Linked DNA regions of Homo sapiens: region 1 is linked to region 2. Evidence: promoter capture Hi-C in 16 types of primary human blood cells and fetal thymus (Javierre and others, 2016). All regions are on one chromosome and are shown on one strand. The core of a region is centred on a gene start or on the middle of the fragment in contact, and the rest is flanking DNA. Distances in the headings are between cores, read along the strand shown.

Region 1 (3,341 bases), core at 68-2,567, 490 kb after region 2:
AGCACACACTATGGCTTCCTACATAAACATCTTATTTACTCTGCTACACTCTTCACTCCTTGAGTGAACTGTTGATGTCTTATTCAGTTTGCACCTGGTTATGCACTCTATAAGTATCTGCTGATTGAAGAGAAGAATGAATGAGTGTATACTTGAAGTATTTAGGATCAAGCCCCTGCAGAGAGACATAATTGAATTCAACTCAAGTAAATTTTGAATGATGAAATGTACCTGGCACTATACCATATATACCATTATAGGAGACCCAAAACATATGTCATAGTCTCTTAAGCTTTTTTGGACAGGCAAGACTTATACTCATGAAGAAATTATACCTGCGGGGGGAAAATGGAAATGAGGTAAGAGAGTACTGGCAGTCCTCAAATTAGAATGTTCTTCCAAAAATTCATTTAAGTTGGTTGTTTGAAGTTTGGAGTAACTCTATCTATGAAAACATTGTCATCAGCTTTATAATATGTTTCCAATATTGGTCCACAATATTTTGCCAGAAAAGTCAAAGATGGGAAGGACTTTAGAATTTATCTACTCAAAGCTTCTCATTTTATAGAAGAGACAGTATGACTTTCCTAAGATCACACAGTGAGTAAGCTGAAACTAGAATTCTCATTTTAGCAACACTCAGTAGTAGTAATAGAAAAGCAATCATCACGACAGGGAACTGTACTTGTGTAAATATTTATCAAATGTCCATTATGTGGCAGACTGTGCAAATGCCTTTTTACCCAAAGCACCATCCTTGACGATCCTCTCCTTCCTCTGCCCTCTTTGATTTACATTCTGCTGATTTTACTACTTCTATATTCCTCTGATCCATCCTCTTCTCCCCAACTCTACCATCACTTTTTTAGTTAAGGTCACTTCCTCTCTTATCTGGCCAATTACAGCAGCTTCCCAGTTTGCTCTCCCAAGTCCTTTGTCTCTAGAACCTCCAAAGTGATCTATGTATGACATTTAAGAAACAAACTATATCATTACATTTCTCTGCTTAGAACTTTCATATGAGTCCACTTTGCCTACCAGATGAAATGCAGGCTCCCTAACTTGTTCTACAAAGTTCTCCATTGTCTACTGCCTGTGCGCCTCCCCTGTCACTCCCCGCCTCCCACTTCAAGCAATGACAATACAGACCTGCTTGCCATTCTCTGCTCGACCATGATATTTTTCCTCCCTCTTCTAGCTCACATTCTCACCTCTCTCTGAAGTGCCCACCTCCGTTCTCAGCTCACCTGCCTAGGTCCTATTTGTCCTTTGGTAACAGAGGTATCCACTTCCCTCTGTCTCTATGTTGCTTCAGTCTGGCTCCTGAGAAGAGGTTTTTTTAGCTCTTTATTCACTAGATGGTGATAGAAAAGAACTCAAAACAATTTTTCCACTACCCTATTAGGTGACCAGGGATTTTCTAAAATCTTAGTATGTCCAGGAGCATTACTTGAGTGAGTCAAATCAGAGAATCCATGATATAACTGGACCCATTGCATTGACTGAAGAATTGATACGTATCTGAGGCAGAGATCGGACTGCATGTGATAACTGTGTCCCTAGAGAACAGGAATGGTCAGAGCTTGAGATGTTGACTGGCCAGCTGCCCTTCTAGGAAGATTGTCCCTAGAAGCCACTGCTGGAATGATCCTCTAGTGTAGGCACTGCTTCCAAGCAGCCTGCTCTCTTGTCCACCAACCTTTACCTCTTATGGTCCAGTGTCCTGCCTAGCTCTTTAAATGGCTTCTTCAGGGACTCATGACCCTAACAGCTTTTTTTTCTCCTGTGTTCCCCTGAGATCCTCTCAGACTTCTCCCAACAAGAACTGAGTCCAGCCTCCTTACATAATAGGGGTGTTGGTCTACTGGGAACCAGATATTTGCCCCAAAGCCTATTTACATGTGATTGCATAGGCCAACCACAGCTACCTAGCAATTTCCCGTCCAGCCTTTAAACCCAAAGGCTGATCATGTTCCCAGTAAGCGGAAATAAGGGTTCATTTTGCACCAAAATGATATTTCTCCAATAAAAATGAAATTGGATGACATTCATTTACAACAGGGTGTTCTTATGAAGCTTTAAGACTTAGTTCAGCATCACTGCTGACATGAAGCCACTCTGACAAGCAGGTCTTCCCCCACTCCTCTCTGTCTGGGCTGAGTGCCTTCACTCTGTGCCTTGTAATAAGCAGACCAATATCTCCATCACTGTGCTGACCACATTGTGTTGCAATGATCTGTTTATACACCTGTTTCCACCATATCTGTGAGCTTTTTGATAGCAGGGGAGATCTTATTCATCTTTACATTTTTTATCCTAACAACAGTGTCTGACACAAAGTAGATGCTCAATAAGTAATTGTCTTACTGTATTTCACTGACTTCCTTTGATAGCTGGAGTAAATCAGAGAGCTGACCTCTTCCCTCAGGAAAGTTATATACAATTTAACCTTGTTATTAGTATGGCAAAGAGCCATCCTTTTCTGAGGGTTCTTTTCTGATGCCTCCTAGGAAGGTGCCTCCTAGATGAGGCACCAAGAATTACTATGCAGATGAACGATACATAGAAATGTGTCTAGCAGGCCGGGTGCAGTGGCTCACGCCTGTAATCCCAGCACTTTGGGAGGCCAAGGCGGATGGATCACCTGAGGTCAAGAGTTTGAGACCAGCCTGGCCAACACGGTGAAACCCCATCTCTACTAAAAATACAAAAGATTAGCCTGGCATGGTGGTGCATGCCTGTAGTCCCAGCTACTCGGGAGGCTGAGGCAGGAGAATCTCTTGAACCTGGGAGGTGGAGGTTGCAGTGAGCCAAAATCACACCATTGCACTCCAGCCTGGGCGACAGAGTGAGACTCCATCTCAAAAATAAATAAACAAACAAACAAATAAATAAATAAATAAGAAGGAAAGAAAAGAAAAAGAAATATGTCTAGCACACCAACAACAAACAGCTCAGACTGGCTGAATGGCCAGCCAGAGGTGTGATGATTTAAGTCAGTTAGATGTCTCTGGTAAGAAGTTTACAAGAAGTAAGGGTATTTTACATTTTCCCTCAGGTTTCTGGAGGAGGGGCACACTTTGCGGAAGGGTGGCGGGTACTCTGACCGATAGCACACAGAATCAAATCCCAAAAGGTCTTTAACGGTTATTTCTTTCAAGAGAACTTCATATTAAGCAATAATCCTACAGTCTAGATAATAATTTATTTTAAAAATAATAATAATCCAGCAGAGCCCTAGGCACATATGAAAGGCATTTACAATAGGGAGTCTTCCAGGAACTTTTATTCTTACAGAGGAGATAAGGCACGTGCATGTGCAATTGGTACACAGATATCTT
Region 2 (3,655 bases), core at 965-3,464:
ACTGCACTCCAGCCTGGGCGACAGAGCGAGATTCCATCTCACAAAAAAAAAAAAAAAAGAAAAGAAAAGAAAGAATTCAGGAGGAAGTTATAAACTGTGTTGAATATTGCCAAGAAGCTGGGTAAAATAAGAACAGAAAATTCATTATTAGATTTAATGAGAGAGGTGTTTGTTTATGTTGGCTTCACTAGAGTGGTGAAGGCCAATGGCTGATTTCCATGGATTGAGGAGGGAACAGGAGATGGAAAATAGAGGTTGTCAACCCACGTAAACTTTTCCTTCCTTCCTCCCTCTCTCCCTCCCATCCTTCCTTTTTTCTCTTTTCTTTCTTCTTTCTCTAAAAGATTAAATATATTATAGTATGGTTTTGTGGAAATGATCAAGTAAAGATGAATAAATTAATAATACAGAAGATAGAGAGGATACCTATAGGAGCAAAATTCCTTGCATAGTCGACAGGGTCTGGGATCCACTGAAGAATTGCAAGGGTTGGCCTTAGATGTAACACAGGGAGAGCTCATCCCTTTTAATAGAGGAAGACAGAAAGGCTGGTACATTGGGTTGTAGGAGGATATATAAGGATATCAGTTAGGTGTTAAGAACAGAAAGACTGAGTTAACAGTGATTTAACAAAAGAGGAGAGTATTTCTCCTTTAAGTAAATTTTCAGGTAGGCAGCCTAGAGCTGATGCAGTGGCTCCATACCCAATTATCCAGGCTCCATCTATCTTGTTGCCATGCCAACCTCAACATGCAGCTTACACTTGCTGGCCTGAAAGTGAACTATTCCATCTCCTGCTATCATGACTGAATACTAGTCAAAGGGAAAAAGGGGGAAGTGGGAGGGGAAAGCACATACCTTTCTTAAAGAGCACAACCTAGAGATGGTCCCTATTCTGTTCATATCTCGTTGGCCTTAATTTAATCACATCATCACTGCAAGCTACAGTGGGGGCTGGGAAATTTGGTGTTTGAGGGGATGACCAAGCGCCCAACTGAAAATGTTATTCTTCTCTTATGAGAAGTAGAGAATGGATGTTAGGGAATGGCTAGAAGACTCTACTACAAAGGATACGGTGGTTCTTTTCTGATTGCTTCTAACTTCTCAATGAAAGGTGAGTTCATCAGCTGAATGAAAGAATAAATGAGATTTTGGGGACTTGAGGAGCAAGGAGAAGGAGTATAATAGTCATTTTGAAGAGTGAGTTAAGTAGGGAACTGTAGTAAGATTGACAGACAGTGTGGAGGGATTACTTGAATCTTGTGAATAGAGGAAAGAGTAGAATCAGATTATCCTGACTCCTGCCTGAAGCTTTACATATTCAGAGAAAAATGTTGGAAGAAACTTTGATATAATGCTATGTCTGTGATCAGGCACACATTTTACTGGACTTTTACTGTCAGGGCCGTCATTTAGTGCCAAGATGTCTAGAGAGTTCTTAATAAGTGTACTCAATTGGCTGAGAAAATGTGTCCATGCAAAAAACCAAACACCGCGTGTTCTCACTCATAGATGGGAATTGAACAATGAGAATACTTGGACACAGGAAGGGGAACATCACACTCTGGGGACTGTTGTGGGGTGGGGGGAGGGGGGAGGGATAGCATTAGAAGATATACCTAATGCTAAATGATGAGTTAATGGGTGCAGCACACCAGCATGGCACATGTATACATATGTAACTAACCTGCACATTGTGCACATGTACCCTAAAACTTAAAGTATAATAATAATAAAAAAATGTGTCCATGGCTCTGGGAGGAGCATGTTTGTTTTCCTCATTTCCCAGTCTGTAAATAAGCAAATTGAAAGGGGTTAGTGATAATGTCCATCTCCAGAAGCTGTCAGATTTCCTTTGTCAAACTCTATGATTTGGGCTGAAGTAGGTGTTGGAGAGGCAGCTACCACGTGCACCCAGATGGCCACTCGTTTAATATGTTACCATTTCCCATTATTTTCGCAGGATAGATAGCCAAAGTGGAGCCCTGAGAGATTTCTTCATTTTTCCTGTCATAAAGAATTGGTAATTCAGTAGTCATAGGAGTTTGTAATAAATAACTCACATTGATTTCTCTGTTCTGAAATAATTTTGCTTCCCCTCTTCCCGAAGCTCTGACACCTGCCCCAACAAGCAATGTTGGAAAATTATTTACATAGTGGCGCAAACTCCCTTACTGCTTTGGATATAAATCCAGGCAGGAGGAGGTAGCTCTAAGGCAAGAGATCTAGGACTTCTAGCCCCTGAACTTTCAGCCGAATACATCTTTTCCAAAGGAGTGAATTCAGGCCCTTGTATCACTGGCAGCAGGACGTGACCATGGAGAAGCTGTTGTGTTTCTTGGTCTTGACCAGCCTCTCTCATGCTTTTGGCCAGACAGGTAAGGGCCACCCCAGGCTATGGGAGAGATTTGATCTGAGGTATGGGGGTGGGGTCTAAGACTGCATGAACAGTCTCAAAAAAAAAAAAAAAAGACTGTATGAACAGAACAGTGGAGCATCCTTCATGGTGTGTGTGTGTGTGTGTGTGTGTGTGTGTGTGTGTGTGGTGTGTAACTGGAGAAGGGGTCAGTCTGTTTCTCAATCTTAAATTCTATACGTAAGTGAGGGGATAGATCTGTGTGATCTGAGAAACCTCTCACATTTGCTTGTTTTTCTGGCTCACAGACATGTCGAGGAAGGCTTTTGTGTTTCCCAAAGAGTCGGATACTTCCTATGTATCCCTCAAAGCACCGTTAACGAAGCCTCTCAAAGCCTTCACTGTGTGCCTCCACTTCTACACGGAACTGTCCTCGACCCGTGGGTACAGTATTTTCTCGTATGCCACCAAGAGACAAGACAATGAGATTCTCATATTTTGGTCTAAGGATATAGGATACAGTTTTACAGTGGGTGGGTCTGAAATATTATTCGAGGTTCCTGAAGTCACAGTAGCTCCAGTACACATTTGTACAAGCTGGGAGTCCGCCTCAGGGATCGTGGAGTTCTGGGTAGATGGGAAGCCCAGGGTGAGGAAGAGTCTGAAGAAGGGATACACTGTGGGGGCAGAAGCAAGCATCATCTTGGGGCAGGAGCAGGATTCCTTCGGTGGGAACTTTGAAGGAAGCCAGTCCCTGGTGGGAGACATTGGAAATGTGAACATGTGGGACTTTGTGCTGTCACCAGATGAGATTAACACCATCTATCTTGGCGGGCCCTTCAGTCCTAATGTCCTGAACTGGCGGGCACTGAAGTATGAAGTGCAAGGCGAAGTGTTCACCAAACCCCAGCTGTGGCCCTGAGGCCCAGCTGTGGGTCCTGAAGGTACCTCCCGGTTTTTTACACCGCATGGGCCCCACGTCTCTGTCTCTGGTACCTCCCGCTTTTTTACACTGCATGGTTCCCACGTCTCTGTCTCTGGGCCTTTGTTCCCCTATATGCATTGCAGGCCTGCTCCACCCTCCTCAGCGCCTGAGAATGGAGGTAAAGTGTCTGGTCTGGGAGCTCGTTAACTATGCTGGGAAACGGTCCAAAAGAATCAGAATTTGAGGTGTTTTGTTTTCATTTTTATTTCAAGTTGGACAGATCTTGGAGATAATTTCTTACCTCACATAGATGAGAAAACTAACACCCAGAAAGGAGAAATGATGTTATAAAAAACTCATAAGGCAAGAGCTGA

The links. The method cuts DNA at HindIII sites, captures the fragments that hold promoters and counts their contacts. A CHiCAGO score of 5 or more calls a contact.
Region 1: a fragment that was not itself captured here is called in contact with the fragment with the promoter of CRP in region 2 in 5 of 17 cell types (endothelial precursors, M0 macrophages, M2 macrophages and 2 more); the score reaches 10.9 in endothelial precursors.

Annotation. Positions count from the first base shown.
Region 1 is chr1:159,223,253-159,226,593 of GRCh38, reverse strand. No RefSeq gene overlaps it. Among named protein-coding and RNA genes, the nearest start is that of ACKR1, 20 kb to the right of the region's middle. The HindIII fragment of the contact is 1,523 bases long and covers 556-2,078 here.
Region 2 is chr1:159,713,148-159,716,802 of GRCh38, reverse strand. CRP (C-reactive protein) reads left to right here and starts at 2,214. Exons shown (of 2, transcript NM_000567.3): 1 at 2,214-2,378; 2 at 2,665-3,655. The coding sequence starts at 2,318. The coding sequence ends at 3,278. The HindIII fragment of the contact is 4,063 bases long and covers 1,314-3,655 here.